3 separate regions of the Homo sapiens genome follow, and all the other regions are linked to region 1. The links are contacts of gene promoters, found by promoter capture Hi-C in human tissues and cell types (Jung and others, 2019). All regions are on one chromosome and are shown on one strand. The core of a region is centred on a gene start or on the middle of the fragment in contact, and the rest is flanking DNA. Distances in the headings are between cores, read along the strand shown.

The links. The method cuts DNA at HindIII sites, captures the fragments that hold promoters and counts their contacts. A contact is called where the count stands out against the background at its distance.
Region 2: a fragment that was not itself captured here is called in contact with the fragment with the promoter of ITGA2B in region 1 in 1 of the 25 tissues and cell types used here (pancreas).
Region 3: a fragment that was not itself captured here is called in contact with the fragment with the promoter of ITGA2B in region 1 in 5 of the 25 tissues and cell types used here (IMR-90 fibroblasts, dorsolateral prefrontal cortex, lymphoblastoid cells and 2 more).

The regions. Positions count from the first base shown.
Region 1 is chr17:44,388,360-44,390,936 of GRCh38, forward strand. It overlaps ITGA2B (integrin subunit alpha 2b), which reads right to left and starts at 1,290. Exons shown (of 30, transcript NM_000419.5): 1 at 927-1,290. The coding sequence starts at 1,114. RefSeq lists an enhancer at 1,447-1,506. The HindIII fragment of the contact is 17,139 bases long and covers 1-2,550 here.
Region 2 is chr17:44,450,113-44,452,689 of GRCh38, forward strand. The region is part of intron 3 of GPATCH8 (G-patch domain containing 8); the gene reads right to left. Among named protein-coding and RNA genes, the nearest start is that of GPATCH8, 52 kb to the right of the region's middle. The HindIII fragment of the contact is 3,187 bases long and covers 1-2,577 here.
Region 3 is chr17:44,432,375-44,434,951 of GRCh38, forward strand. All of the region lies in intron 5 of GPATCH8 (G-patch domain containing 8), which reads right to left. Among named protein-coding and RNA genes, the nearest start is that of ITGA2B, 44 kb to the left of the region's middle. The HindIII fragment of the contact is 4,000 bases long and covers 1-2,577 here.

The DNA.
Region 1 (2,577 bases), core at 40-2,539:
TTTTTTTTTTTTTTGAGACAGAGTTTCGCTCTCGTTGCCCAGGCTGGAGTGCAATGGCATGATCTCGGCTCACCACAACCTCTGCCTCTCAGGTTCAAACGATTCTCCTGCCTCAGCCTCCCGAGTAGCTGGGATTACAAGCATGCGGCACCACGCCCGGCTAATTTTTTTTTTTTTGAGACGGAGTGTCACTCTGTCACCCAGGCTGGAGTGCAGTGGCATGATCTCAGCTCACTGCAACCTCCACCTCCCGGGTTCAAGTGATTCTCCTACCTCAGCCTCCCGAGTAGCTGGGACTACAGGAGTGTGCCACCACGCTCAGCTAATTTTTGTATTTTTAATAGAGACAGGGTTTCACCATATTGGCCAGGCTGGTCTTGAACTCCTGACCTCATGATCTGCCCACCTCTGCCTCCCAAAGTGCTGGGATTGCAGGTGTGAGCCACTGTGCCTGGTCTCTTTTTTTTTTTTTTTTTTGTATTTTTAGTAGAGACGGGGTTTCTCCATGTTGGTCAGGCTGGTCTCGAATTCTCGACCTCAGGTGATCTGCCCGCCTCGGCCTCCCAAAGTGCTGGGATTACAGGCATGAGCCACCGCGCCCGGCCTCCTCTCTGCATTTCAAGGTGTTGAGGGTGGAGTGGTTCATACAACTGACCCTTGGGGAAAAAATAAAGCATCAACTCTTGTCTTCCCTTTGTTCTTGCTGTAGTTTTCAGTGCCCATCAGCCCACATGTGCCCTGCCCTTATACCTTCACCTGAGCCAGTCCCCTGGACCCCAACATTCTTGACAAGAAATCAACCTGAATAGGCCCCACAAGTCACCTTGCTCAACTGCTATCGCAAATGGGAAACTCGAAGCCCCCAGAAGCAGTGATGGGGAGGGGTCCTGCTCTCTCCCAATACCCCAACTTCCCTTACGGCTCACCTCCCATGGCTGTCCTTGTGGAAGTCCAGTGAAAATCCAAACTGGCTGCCATTGGGGCCTGCATAGAAGGTGAGCTGCACTGGGTCCAGGTTCAAGGCCCAGGCTGGAGGGGCAGCACAAGGTCCCAAGAGCAGCAGCACCCACTCCAGAAGCCAGAGGGCTTGCAGTGGACACAAAGCTCTGGCCATCTTCCTTCTTCCACAACCTCCCAGGCAGGAATGGGCCAGCTCCTCCTCCTTCCCTTCAGATTCCTCCACAGGAAGTCTTTTCTTATCAAACTGGAACCCCAAGTAACTTGCTGAGCAACGGGCAGAGCAAAGGGCTATAGCCCCTGGACTCATGGTGGCTAGAATTGCCAGGAAGTGGGTGAGGCCACCCAGAGGGTGGATGCTCATGGCTGAAAGCCATGACTCCTCCCCTTTCCTGAGAATAGTTTATTACCATGTCCTATTGGTTCTGCCTATCAATGATGTCTCTTGAATCTTTACCCCATCTCTACTACCACCGTGCTAGTCCAAGCCACCATCACTTTCTGCTTGGGATAGCGTGATTGTGAACTGGTCCATACTTGTCTACTCTAGCCTACAGTTCTAATCTCCTCCCTTCCCCCATCTGGCTGTACAGCTGTGGTGCTTTGTGACTTGGCCACAGGTCGGGGAAGGAGAAGGAAGCTGCTGCCCCCGATAAAACCTGAGGCTTCTGTATCTTTTTGGATATGGCATTTACCCACTTCCTCCTTCTAGGACCTTGGGCGGCCTCAACCAGCCATATTGGTGCAGCAGCTTCCTCACTCCTCCTCCGTCTTGAGCCAAGCTTTAGTGTGGCCACAGCAGTGCAGTCAGTGCTGGGGACAGGGTGGTGAATGGACCTTGGTCTAGGTGGCAAGGAGATTGGGGATAAAGTGGAGTTATTCCAGGGAATTTTGACTCACAGTTTCTGAGATTATGCATTAGCTGTTCAGTTGAAGGTAGGCCCTCAATCCTTTTTGGGTGATGGAGCTCTTTAACCATTAAGACTTGATTCTGGTTGGGGGCTTTGCCTAGGGGAGCCTTCCCTGACTCCTCAGGCTGGCCGCGTGGGCTAACACACGTAGGCACAGCATTGAGCACACTGTTTACTCTTGGTCCGTTCACAGGATTGTGTAAATGAGTCCCTTGGGAGCAAGGCTCCTTGCTACAGCCCTAGAGACTACCCAAGAGTCCAATGTGTAGTACGTGTATTGCTGAAAGACTGGATGGAAACACACACTAAGGATGGAAGATGCAAACATAGGGTGACAAAGTGAAGGGATGAGTTTTGAGCAGAAAGGCAAAGTCATTTTCTCTCGGTAAGCGGAAGAGGAGGAGTGCCAAGTCTTACTGGCACTCATGCCTTCCCAAAAAAGCAGGTTCTCAGGAAGATTTAAGAGGTCCGCTAGGGGTAACCATAGCCACATTTTCCTTTTGATTTCTATTTTCTGATCAAACTTAACCATTGCCGTATCCTGCTCAACCACCCTGTACCATTTTGAAGTCCCCTCGTAATTTACTACCTCAGCCTAGAGTTAAGAATCTTATCCTTTATAGGACAGGAAGCTAAAAGCCTGAACTTTGGTCTGGGCCTTCTTCATTGCTGAGTTCCCAGTGTCAAGTACATGGGAGGCGTGTAATTA
Region 2 (2,577 bases), core at 33-2,532, 62 kb after region 1:
CTTACTAGTTGCAGAGTTAGAATTGAACCCAGGTGAAATTTCAGATGAGCTCACAAAGTAGTAACTTGCGGTTCAAATACAGCCTGGTATGTTTTGTTTAATTTCATTATTTTAGACTTCAAGCCAACATTTATCAATTAGAACATTTCACAGAAAAGGAATCTGAATTCCTGGCTGCTTTTAACAATTTTAGAAGATCCAGCAACACTGAGATTATAATCTTAGGTGGCAACAATTACCTTCTCTAAACACAGCAAAACTCACACCACTTGCTATTGTCTCACACTCACTCAATTTCAACAACGTATGCTATCATCGGGCCCCAACTCCTACTTCAGGTCTACATTCTTTGCTCCCTCCTTTTGAACCAAATGGGATTTACAAGAAAACCAAGTGGGATTTCTATCTACTGGTTTGGGAAGATTTAGTGAGAAAGGAAATACTGGATTTAAAACTAATAAACTACATTTGAAATACTACATAAAAATATATTACACTTTGTTCTCTTTTCCGAGTGTTTTAAGTGCCATTGTTTTGAATTTTGGTGGTAAATTTTAAATGAACTTTTGAAAGATTTTAATAAAATATGTTTATTATAAAACACTTTTTACTTTATGTTCTTATCATTTTCAGATTTCATTCCACTTTAAAATACCAACGCTTCTCATGGAAGAATAAAGAGATTCCACTAACTCACAGACACCTGTACTCCATGTATCTATCAGCAAGTATAGATGCACAGATAGAAAATAGTTGGTTGCTTCTTTATTCTCACAATCTGAGACTTTTCACTTGTTAATTATTATAAAAAATTTGAAATTATAACTTAAATTGCTCAATTCTCTATTAAGCTTCCACTGTACCTTTAACTTCACAATTAAAACAATCATTATACTGTATTAAATTTGTTACATTATTTGTTTCCCTATTAGAAATAAACCTCTGGAGGGCAGAGGTTCTATCTTATTCACTCTTAAAGACTTAGTACAGATCTGGCACATTCTTTTTCTCTTTTTCTTTGGAGACAGAGTCTTACTCTGTCACCCAGGCGGCTCACTGTAACCTCCGCCTCCTGAGTTCAAGCTATTCTCATGCCTCAGCCTTCCAAGTAGCTGGGATTACAGGCGTGCACCAACATGCCTGGCTAATTTTTGTATATTTTGGTAGAGAGGGTTTCGCCATGTTGGCCAGGCTGGTCTTGAACTCCTAGCCTCAAGTGATCCACCTGCCTCGTCCTCCCATAGAGCTGTGATTACAGTCGTGAGCCACCACACCCAACCCAGATCTGGCACCTTTTAAGCATGCAATAAACATATGCAGAATACAAAACAAGAAAAACAGCAACAGAGAATACATAAATGCACAGTAATTACTATCCTTTAGGAATTTACAGTCTACTGAATTAGGTAAAAGAGACACATCAACAAAAATTATACAAGATTGAATATTTAAAATGCCACAGGAGAGAAACAGAAAGTAGAAGTCAGGGAGGAAATTATAGTATGAGACATAAGTTACAGTATTTTCTTTTTCCCTGGACACCAATTTCCATCCCTAAATATTTGGCAAAAGTTCTTACCACTCAACTTTAGCCTTAAGTTTCTAGTGAATTTATACTCATCATGAAGAATATATATGACCACTTCAAGTGCCCTACGAGAATATATCACATTCAGAATTATCTCCACTTTTTCTGGCCTGAATAACTACTGTATATTTCAATTCGGTGGCACTGGTATTTCTCACCACCATCATATCTCTCCAGGATAGGGAAGTAAGCTAGCACCTACAGTTTAGGTACATTACAGCATATTGGTTAAAAGCATAGGTTTTGGCACCAAGATTCTACCACTTATCTGCTGTAAGATCTTGGGCAGGCTGGGCGTGGTGGCTTAAGCCTGTAATCCCAGCACTTTGGGAGGCCGATTCGGGCGGATTGCCCGAGGTCAGGAGTTTGAGACCAGTCTGGCCAACATAGTGAAACCCCGTCTCTAATAAAAATACAGGAAAATTAGTCAGGTGTGGTGGCATGCACCTATAATCTCAGCTAGTTGGGAGGCTGAGGCAGGGGAATTGCTTGAACCAGGGAGGTGGAGGTTGCAGTGAGCCGAGACTGCACCACTGCACTCCAGCCTGGGTGACAGAGCAACACTCCGTCTCAAAAAAAAAAAAAAAAAGAAAAAAAAAAAAAGGAAAAAAGATCTTGGGCAAAGATCTTTTGGTAAAATGCTCTTTGGGTAAAATGGGAGTATCTACCTCAAAGAGGATTTAAGTTAGAAAATCCATGTCCAAGCACTCAGTAAACACTTAATAAATGATGGCTATTATAAAAGATTAACACTAAATCTAGTGAATAGGGGCTTGCTAGTCAAACATGTGCATAAACTGACTATATATTGTCTTCATAGTTGACCTGTTTTATCAGCCTTCATAGTTATTCCTTCCTTTCCATTTCCACTATTACTCTTTCAAGTCCTTATCTATACTCATACCCAGACAACTTTCTAAATGGTTTTCCATCTCCATCCTCAGACATTCTTTGAGCAGACTATTATTTTATTTCCATCACCAATGCCT
Region 3 (2,577 bases), core at 23-2,522, 44 kb after region 1:
GATACGACAAGGGTAGTTAAGGAAAGATGAAGGCTGAGTACCAATGTTTGAGAATGACAGCTGAGAGGACTAAGAGGGACATGACACATGAGAGGATTAATTGGCAGCTCTGAGGGCCCAGTGAGGTTGGCAGAAAGGGTATAGAAATAAAGAATGCAAGTAATGCATTTTGTACTAACGGGACAGGCTTTTGGTGAGTATGTATGACAAAAGGACTAGGAGGAAAGGGAGTTGGAATCAAAGTGCTGTGAGAGGTAAACATGAGTGTGTGGTGCTAGAGGGGAAAAGTACAAATTAAGGAGGAGCTAAGTTACTAAAGCTTCCAAAGTCATGTGAAGTTGAAGAAAAAATATAGGAGAATAAAGGAGTGACAGCAGGAAGGAAAAAAGACCATGGTCAGATAATAGGACATTTAAGATTTTAGAAACAGTGTAGTTCAGAGTTGACAGGGTTTCGGAGTAAATATTTTGATCAATAAGATGGGGAAAGTAATTCTTGCTCTTGCCCAGGCTGGAGTGCAGTGGTGTGATCATAGGTCACTGCTGTCTTCAACTCCTGGGCCCAAGTGATCCTCCCAATTCAGCTTCTCTAAGTAGCTGGGATTTATAGGCATGCACCACCAACACCTAGCTATTTTTTTTCTTTTTTCTTTTTGTAGAGACAGATTCTTGCTACATTGCCCAGACTGCTCTCAAACTCCTGGGCTCAAGCAATCCTCCCAAAGCACAGCCGTGATCCACCGCACCCAGCCGAGAAATAATTCTATTACCAGGGAGAGAGCATCTCAAGATACTATGTATAATCTTATGAGGCTGTGAATTACTGAGGTATTTCATTTATTTTTCACTCGACAGTGTAACTTTTACTTGAAAAATAAAAATGTATTCTTTATAATGTTTATATTTCAGACAGTACATAAAATGAATCTGGCTTTTCTCACTATTTCAAAATATTTATTCATTCAACTAATATTTATTGAGTACTTATGCACCACACACTGTGCTGGATGCAGGATATATACTGGCAGACAAATAGACATACTCTCTCTCCTCAATGCCCTTTCTGACTAGTACAGAAAGCAGAATATAAATTAGTGAATAAAAATTTATAATTACAAATTGTAAGAGAGGTTGTTGCAAGAGAATAAGGCAGAGTGGTTAATTATTTAAATGAGTTGATTAGGGAAGATCTATAATGAGGTAATATTTAAGCTAAAACCCAAAGGAGAAAATTTAACCAAGTGAAAGATGATGAAACATGGTGTCATGACCACTCTTGTGCCTAGAGAAAGAATGTAGCCAGAAAAAGAGGGCCCAGGTCTGAAGCTGAGGAACTCCAATATCTGAAGTTCAGGCAGAATAAACAGCAGCCAACAAAGGAATCTACATAGAAGCAGCAAGACAGATAAGAAGCAACTAATCTAGGAAAGTATAAATTCTTCAAAACCAAGAGTAATGAAAATGTTTTAAAGAAGAAAGAGTATGCCAGGCGCAGTGGCTCACGCCTGTAATCCCCACACTTTGGGAGGCCGAGGTGGGCAGATCACGTGAGGTAAGGAGTTCGAGACCAGCCTGGCCAACATGGTGAAACCCCATCTCTACCAAAAATTCAAAAAAATTAGCTGGCCGTGGTGGCTCATACCTGTAGTCCCAGCTACTCGGAGGCTAAGGCACGAGAATCACTTGAACCCGGGAGCAGTGAGCTTAGATCACACCACTGTACTCCAGCCTGGGCAACAGAGTGAGACTCAGTCTTTAAAAAAAATAATAATATTAATAATAATAATAAAATAAATAAATAAATAAATGATTTATTGGATTTAGCAAATAGAAGTGTTTGGTGGCCTTGAATAAAGTGGTTTGGTGAAAACTGCTAAAGTCAGTATAAATAGGCTGAAGAGTGAATAAAGAGAGAGGAAAGGAGAAGAAAAAGGGGAAAGAAAAAGGGGCAGGAAAAGAAGATGAGTTGGTTATATTATAGTTCTGGATAAAATAAAACACACAAAAATTTAATATATAGCTAAGCTAAGTTCAAAAACAAGAAAGGGGGTCAAGCGCGGTGACTTACGCCTGAAATCCCAGCAAACTGGGAAGCCGTGGCAGGCAGATCACCTGAGGCAAGGAGTTCAAGACCAGCCTGGCCAACATGGTGAAACCCCATCTCTACTAAAAACACAAAAATTAGGCTTGGCGTGGTGGCTCACGCCTGTAATCCCAGCACTTTGGGAGGCCGAGGCGGGTGGATCACAAGGTCAGGAGTTCGAGACCAGCCTGACCAACATGGTGAAACCCCGTCTCTACTGAGTGTTGGGGTTACAAGTGTGAGCCACTGTGTCTGGCCTCTGCAAGTGTTGGGGTTACAAGTGTGAGCCATTGTGTCTGGCCTCAAAGGACTTTTAACAATTTTTACTGCTACCACTACTTGAATACCTACTATGTAACAGGCATTGTGTTTTCAAACACTAATTCATGTAATCTTTCTAACACACTTTAGAAGTAGGTATTATTATCTCTATAGTTTATACAGAGCCAATAAATAGGAATGTAATAGAAATCTGAGATCTACTACTAATTACCA